Regions from separate parts of the Homo sapiens genome. Here region 1 is linked to region 2. Evidence: promoter capture Hi-C in human tissues and cell types (Jung and others, 2019). All regions are on one chromosome and are shown on one strand. The core of a region is centred on a gene start or on the middle of the fragment in contact, and the rest is flanking DNA. Distances in the headings are between cores, read along the strand shown. Region 1 overlaps OSBP2 (oxysterol binding protein 2). Region 2 holds the start of OSBP2 (oxysterol binding protein 2).

Region 1 (4,063 bases), core at 293-2,792, 38 kb after region 2:
TCCGTGGAGGGAAGAGTGGGGGGAGATTCATCTGACCTGTTCTTTTCATATCCTATTTTCCACGGTGGCATTTCATACAAGCCCAGAAGTGGAGGTACGGCGTGACCTGGATGAGGCATCATCGAGAGAGACAAAGAAGGAGGTGGTCGAGGGAATCTGAGAAGGCGCACAAGGTTTGTGTCCAATACAGTCCACACCTTGCGCTACTCAGGTCTGCTCGTGCCCTCCCATGATATCAGCTCTCCTACTTCAATGTGGGAATCTCCGTTTTCCTTGGAGAACAAAAACATCCTCATTCCTTCCCTGAGCAGGAAGGTACAAATCCCATCAGTGACAGAAGCCATTTCCTGGTGCTGGCCCACTGGGGTTACCAGGAAGAATAAAGCAAGAAGGTTGTGAAACAAGGTCATCTGCTGCTGCTGTGGCCGGTCCTGGTGTGCTCATTGTTACTCATCATTTCCCTCCTGCACTACCCACCCTAGACCCTCTCCACTCTCCGCCAGCACTCTGGCTGGTCTGTGATGTTTGCGCTGAGTGGTCTGCATGTGTTGTTGGCCTTGCTCATTATCAGCCGTTACCAATCATGGAAATGTTAAGAGATACCGGTGCTAGGCACAGTGGCTCATGCCTGTAATCCCAGCACTTTGGGAGGCCAAGGTGGAAAGATCACCTGAGGTCAGGGGTTCAAGACCAGCCTCACTAACATGGTGAAACCCCATCTCTACTAAAAATACAAAAATTAGCTGGGCGTGGTGACGGGTGCCTATAGTCCCAGCTACTCGGGAGGCTGAGACAGGAGAATCACTTGAACCTGGGAGGCGGAGGTTGCAGAAAGCCGAGATAGCGCCATTGCACTCCAGCCTGGGCAACAAGAGTGAAACTCTGTCTCAAAAAATAAATAAATAAATAAAAATAAGAGATATCCCAAGGAGTCCTCTGGGTTTTATTCCAGACATTCTCCTCCCATTTCCAAATGGGCCACTCACCTAATTCCTCATGGCAATTAGGATCAGTGACCCCTGGCGGTAGAGTCACTCCCCTGGCAGTAGAGTCACTCCCCTGGCAGTAGAGTCACTCCCCTCTTTGTTGGTCACTGGCATGAGGAGCCGTAGGTGGCCAAGTGGTTGTGGCAGTGTCCAGATCAGTGGAATCTTTGTTTCACATTCCTCCCTTACCCCAGGACTAGATCCTCTAACCCAGCTGATCCCAAGTGTGTGAGGATGGGAAGCACACACCTTGCAAAGGGCAACCATGCGTGATGGTGAGCAGGGCCACTCCTGGACCTGTCTGCTGTAGCTGTGGGGGACATGGCACCAGATATCAGTTGTCAGCTCAAGGCATCCTGGAGGACAGAGGCTCAAACCTGAGGGGTATTTCTCCCTCGGTGTCCCCGCTAAGCCAGTAGGCCATTCCATTGTTTTGTCAGGCTCGCTGCCCCCTAGTGCAGCTGGGTTCCTGTGATTCCAGTGAATTTATGGCCAGGAGTCACTGGCACAGCTGCTAGGCTGAAATGGGCCACTTTGTATAAGGCTGTATCGAATGGAAGTCCAGGCCAGCACACGAGGCATTCAGTAACTTTGGACCATGGTGCTGCTGGAGGCACTACAGGCAGGGAAGGCAACCTCATTACCAAAAAGCACTTCCGTTTCATGAAGGATAAATTGTGTATCCCTCCAAGGTGGAAGGGGTCTGATATAGTTAGTGGCTGTCTGGCTCTTCCCAAGGATGGGCCATATCAAGGAGGGTTCCGTGTTGGTTTCTACTGCTGGTAGATCGGGCACTCAGTGGAGCCGCGAGATGAGCCTTGGTGCTGGGGAGGCAAAAGAGGAAGGAAAGCAAGGGGAGGATGCAAAGTAACATGAGGCTTCAAGACCTCGCCACTGCTTTGCAGCAAACTGTAAGGCTCACAGAGGCCACTCATGTTCTCTGGGCTCATGGACTTCTCTGGAAGGTTTGCAAAGATACCTTGGAGAGATCTGCAGGGGGGATAAATGAAGAGCATTTCCTGGCCTGGTTTCCATCCACTTCCCATTTCCCACTGCTCATTGTTTAACCTGTGAGTCACTAACCCTTCCATACTGTGGGTTGCAAAAATCCAGCTTGTCGGTGACCACTCAGGAAACCAGATTGCATACTCTGAGATGCAGTACTACTCCCAAGCCCAAAAATGCAGGGGCGACTTGGCTTAAATGGAGGAGAGAGAGAGGGGACGGAGGAGGTGCACCATTCTTAGTTGATGTACAAGGTTTGGGTCCAATACAACTATGTAAGTCGCTAACCATAGATGGTCTCCATGGCCTAAAAAGCAATGCATTAACTACTACAGGCTTCCAAGTTCTGATTGCTGGAATCCTTGACAGAGGTGAGAGTGTGACTGGGGTCATTGCGAGTATTATTTTGTTGAGAATCGGTGTAGTTAACTTAGTGGGATGTTGGTTGTGGTAAATTCTCTTGCAGTTAAATTGTACTGCAGATGTTTAGTATTTTGTTTATATTTGTTCTAAATCAGATATCAAAGTAATGCCTCAAAACATGTCTCCTTAAAAGTGGCAGAAAATACATTATCATTTTTTTTTTGAGACGGAGTTTAGCTCTGTCACCCAGGCTAGAGTGCAGTGGTGTGATCTCCATTCACTGCAACCATCACCTCTTGGGTTCAAACGACTCTCCTGCCTCAGCCTCCTGAGTAGCTGGGATTACAGACATGCACCACCAGGCCCATTTAATTTTTGTATTTTTAGTAGAGACGGGGTTTCACCATGTTGGCCAGGCTGGTCTCGAACTCCTGGCCTCAAGTGATCTGCCTGCCTCAGTGCTGGGATTATAGGCATGAGCCATCATGCCTGGCCACATTATCATGTATTTTGGATATGAGCCCTGATGAAACTGGGAGGCCTTAGATCATGGCTGGTAGTGAGGCCACTGAAGCTGCTTAGGGCTCAGTGAGACCAGATGGTTCTGGAATATTGCACACCTCCATAGCCTCTTGCGGGAGAGGAGTTACCACTGCAGCTTGCAGGGCCCAGGTCTATAGTGTACTGTGAGCAGGGCTTTAACTTTGCCACTGTCTGGACTATTGGACTTCCCTGGAAGCTTAACCTTCATAGAGAGGGTTACCTCAGCCAGGACTCACAGTGGGAGAAACAAAATCATTTATTTACAACATGAGCAGGTGCACTACTCCTAAACAACAATCTGGATTTTAGGATACATCCCTAAATTTTAGACCCTTTCAGGACTGAGTTTGAAGCCATTGAAAAATTTTTAAAACTGAATAAAAAAGGTAAAAATAATACCTTGGCTACAGGTTAAAAATGGATTGAACATAAAATATCTAAATGAAAGAGAAGAGCAGAGCTAAATTCTAAGACTAGCAAATGTATCAGATCTTGATAATTTTAAGGGTTGTTAGCCCCCACATTTATATATTTCACTGTATAATTCCTTCCAAATAATGTAGAAAGATAAAACTGAAAAGTTAAAGTAAGAGGCTGGGTGTGGTTGGTGGCTCATGCCTATAATCCTAGCACTTTGGAAAGCCAAGGTGGGAGGATAACTTGAGCTCAGGAGTTCAAGACCAGCCTAGGCAACATAGTGAGACCTTGTCTCTACCAAAAACAAAAAAAAATTAGCTGGCATGGTGGCACATGCCTATGGTCCCAGTTACTTGGGAGGCTGAGACAGGAGGATTGTTTGAGCGCAGGAGTTCAAGGCTGCAGTGAGCTATGATTGCACCATTGCACTCCAGCCTGGGCAACAGAGTGAGACTCTATTTCAAAAATAAAATAAAACCCTTAATAAAAAGTAACACTAACTAGAATGAGTAAAGGATCAATTTAGATTTGGATGCTGGGTGACTAGAAAAACTAATCTGCTATATTTTCATTTTCTGAAGTGCTCATGTTACTTATTCATATCTACCTGCTCTTGTTTCATTTTTATCAACTTCTATTTCATTAAATTGTTTCTTCTTCTTTTTTCTTCTCTTCTCTCTCTTTTTTTTTTTTTTTTTTTTTTGAGACAGGGTCTTAACTCTGTCACCCAGGCTGGAATGCCTGGCTAA
Region 2 (4,037 bases), core at 367-2,866:
GGGGGGCTCTCTGCACTCCAGAGCTCACAGCAAAATTGCAGGTAAGACCACCATTCAAAGACAAGTGCCTGAGGAAGGGGTCTCAAAGTCACCAGCAAAGATGCCAGCGGCTCCTGCTCAGTGCATGTCTGCACCTCCTATTTCTAGGACCTTCCAATCTGCTTCCTTCTGGGGACCACTTCACGTAGGAAGCAGTCCCTACACAGGTTATCTTGTCACAAGCAAAGATCAGGAATGGATAGGTGGGTAAGGGGAGAGTAAGACGTGATGGTGAGCTAAGAGGAGTCTGCAGAGAGGTCTAAGCTTGAAAAGTCTGGACAGAAACCCAATGTTCAGTCTTTCCATTTGTATTTCTGATTATTTGTAGTAACCATCAACTTTCGTCATTTGGATAGATTCTTAAGAAAAAAAAAAAATCACTGATGGCTGGGCACAGTGGCTCACGCCTGTAATCCTAGCACTTTGGGAGGCCGAGGCGGGAGGATCCTGGCCTGAGGTCAGGAGTTCAAGACCAGCCTGACCAACATGGTGAAACCCCGTTTCTACTAAAAATACAAAATTTAGCTGGGCATGGTGCGGGCCGTGGAATTCCAGCTACTAGGGAGGCCAAGGCAGGAGAATCGCTTGAACCTGGGAAGCGGAGGCTGCAGTGAACCAAGATCACGCCACTGCATTCCAGCCTGGGCTACCGAGTGAGACTCAGTCTCAAAAAGGAAAAAAAAAAAAAGCGGAAAAAAAAATTCGCTGATGTTTTAACCATTCTGGGGTCACAGCCTCCTTTGTTATGGACCTACTCTGGAAAAATGCACAGACAGGTAAACCTCTGCGGAAGCCTCACAGACTGCCAGCCTACCCAGGGATCCCGGGAGGTCCAAGTTCAGAATCCCACTTTGAGATGTTTCTTGTACTAAAACGCTTGGTTTACAAAAAGTCTTCCCCTATTTGTTTAGAGAACCCGAACGATGTCGTCACTGGCAGCGAAGCGCCTTGGCATGAACCGTAGGCCAGCTGGCTCAGGAGGTGGAGGCGGTGAGGCGGCCACTTGGGGCCACCGCTTCTGGCGGCCGCAGGAGCGACCCACAGACAGGTAATGGCTGCCATGGGGGGCGGGGCGTCGTCTTTAGCCTTTAGCGCCCCTGTGCTTCGTGCGCATTTCGTGGCCTCTGGGTGCCGTACCTGCTTCCCACCCGGCTTTCCTGGGTGGCGGAGAGCGAACCCACCCCAGCCTGGGTTGGGGGAGGGGGCGTCGGCGCAGGGTCCCGTGGGCAGAGCTGCGCTGGGAGCTGGCGGGCTCCGCATTCATCATTGTTCCTCCAGCGCCTGGCACGGCTGGGCCGAAGCAGAGACCGTGGCCTGAAGCGCGCCATCCCCTTCGGAGTTGACCGACCACCAAGCTCTTCCGCCCACAGGTGTTGTCAGAGCTCCTTCCACCGGCCGGACCTAGGAAGGACCCAGGGTCCAAACATGGCCCGAGGCTGGCCGAGAGCACAACAGCCGGCGGGCGCTGACGGGCACGGAGCGCACGGGACCGCGGAGGAACCCGCGCGCGCCCCCGCCTCGCGCCGCGCGCACGTGACTGCGCCCCCGGCCCCGCCCCCGGCCTGCCCCCCGCCCCCACTGGCCGCTCGGCCGCGCGCGGGTCGGCCGGCTCTATGGGGAAAGCGGCGGCTCCGAGCCGAGGCGGCGGCTGTGGCGGCCGCTCCCGCGGGCTCTCGTCGCTGTTCACGGTTGTCCCCTGCCTGTCGTGCCACACGGCGGCGCCGGGCATGAGCGCTTCCACGTCCGGCTCCGGGCCGGAGCCCAAGCCCCAGCCCCAGCCCGTGCCCGAACCGGAGCGGGGACCGCTGTCAGAACAGGTGTCGGAGGCAGTTTCGGAGGCAGTGCCAAGATCGGAACCTGTGTCCGAGACGACGTCTGAGCCGGAGCCAGGGGCTGGGCAGCCATCGGAACTGCTGCAGGGGTCGCGGCCGGGGTCAGAGTCAAGCTCAGGTGTAGGGGCTGGGCCCTTCACTAAGGCCGCATCGGAGCCGCTCTCCCGGGCGGTGGGGAGCGCGACCTTTCTCAGACCCGAGTCAGGATCGCTGCCAGCGTTAAAGCCCCTGCCTCTTCTGCGACCAGGACAGGCGAAGACTCCTCTTGGGGTTCCAATGTCGGGGACTGGCACGACCTCCAGTGCCCCACTGGCCTTACTGCCTCTGGACAGCTTCGAGGGCTGGCTTCTCAAGTGGACCAACTATCTGAAGGGCTACCAGCGCCGCTGGTTCGTGCTGGGCAATGGTTTGCTCTCTTACTACAGGTATGGAAGCGCCAGGGTGGGACATGGGGGTTGGAGGGTGGTGATGCTGCAGGGATGGTGATGGAGGGCCTCCATGGTTGGCGGACACTGCCACTAGTCTAGAGATGTTTAGGGGCATGCATTCCAGCAGGCCAAGTCACGCTTCTGGCCCGCCGCCAAGGGCCGGGGGCCCTGACCTCTGGCAAGGGTGAATGTGATCTGCGGACATGACCTCTGGCAAGCTTGGGTTTTTGGGCAAGTGGGGAGGTGGAGTAAGGGAGTGATCTGGGGCCTCAGTTCCCTTCTGCTTGGCAGTTGTGGGGCTTGGGGCAGCTAGCTAGAGTCAGCCCCTCAAAGTCCTTGCCCTTTCTGGTTCGGGAGCTAACATCATTGTGTGTTTGGGATTGAGGGAGAGAGTCACCTTGTTCAGTCCTTAGGACCCACACTCTTAGGAAGGGCTGCTTATTCTTCCCGCCTGGGGCAGTTACTCCCACCTTTCCTGATGCCTCTGGTTGCCAGGCCTTGGGCTGGGCACCACAGACTCACAGATGTATTGGACACGGTTCTTGGCCTTCAGGAGTCCATCTTGGCATTTTGCGGAGAGCTAGGAAGTGTTTTGCTGCCCTCCTTTCTTATTCCAGACCCAGCACGGGATTCAAAATTAAAGTCCAGTGGTGAGAGAGCTAACACTGTCTTCCCACTGAAACTGGTTGAAAGGAGGTTACTGAAGCCTCCCTTTGCTTTCTTACTGGCTCTTCCCTGGGTCTGCTTCCTGGGGATGGTTGGTTTAAGCCTTGAGAACTCAGATCAGTCTATGCCAGTGGTTCTCAAACCTGAGTGTGCATCAGCATTCCCTGAAGAGCTTGTTGGAACACAAAGTGCTGGGCCTCCCCAATGAATTTCTGTTACAGTGGGCCTAGGGGAAGGGCCTGAGATTCGGATTTTCTAATAACTTCCCAGGCGTGGCTGGTGATGCTGGTCCAGGACCACACTCTGAGAAGCACTGTTTCATTGCTGCACACAAAAGGACCTTGACTTGCTGTTGCTGAAATTCAGGTCACTTCACTCACTTCATTCAGCCAACAGTATCCCTTCAAGTCACCCACTACAGGGTTTTGTTTTTTGTTGTTTTTGTTTTTGAGACGGAGTATTGCTCTGTCGCCCAGGCTGGAGTGCAGTGGTGCAATCTTGGCTCACTGCAACCTCCGCCCCCCAGGTTCAAGCAATTCTTCTGCCTCAGCCTCCTGAGTAGTTGGGATTACAGGCGCCCGTCACCATGCCCGGCTAATTTTTTTTTTGTATTTTTAGTAGAGATGGGGTTTCACCATGTTGCCCAGGCTGGTTTCGAACTCCTGACCTCAGGTGATTCGCCTGCCTCGGCCTCCCAAAGTGTTAGGATTACAGGCATGAGCCACCACACCGGCCTCTCCTGTCTTACAAATGAGGAGTTCTGAGGTTTGATGGGGAGACACAGAGCCCATTATCCAAAGGCACTGGCCCAGTAGACGGTAGAGAGGGATTCTGAACACCAACATCTGGACCTGTCCCAAATGTGTCCTGATACCCACTCACCTTTGAGTTCAGCATGTCTGTGTTACCTGTATTTACCAGGTACTACTAAACTGAAGAGTTAAAGGTAATGTTTATAAGTATAGTCTCCCACAGTGGCAGAAATGCCTGGTTTTAGTGGAAGTAAAACCTGATATCATGCTTTTGGGTTTTAATTGGAAGAGCAAAGATGTCCATCTTCTTTTTTTTATTT

The links. Contacts are between HindIII fragments. The study calls those that stand out against the background at their distance.
Region 1: a fragment that was not itself captured here is called in contact with the fragment with the promoter of OSBP2 in region 2 in 1 of the 25 tissues and cell types used here (pancreas).

Annotation. Positions count from the first base shown.
Region 1 is chr22:30,731,416-30,735,478 of GRCh38, forward strand. The region is part of intron 1 of OSBP2 (oxysterol binding protein 2); the gene reads left to right. MIR3200 (microRNA 3200) reads left to right here and starts at 142; the gene lies at 142-226. The HindIII fragment of the contact is 9,479 bases long and covers 1-4,063 here.
Region 2 is chr22:30,693,258-30,697,294 of GRCh38, forward strand. It overlaps OSBP2 (oxysterol binding protein 2), which reads left to right and starts at 1,617. Exons shown (of 14, transcript NM_030758.4): 1 at 1,617-2,296. The coding sequence starts at 1,653. RefSeq lists silencers at 1,290-1,369, 1,754-1,803. The HindIII fragment of the contact is 4,458 bases long and covers 1-3,799 here.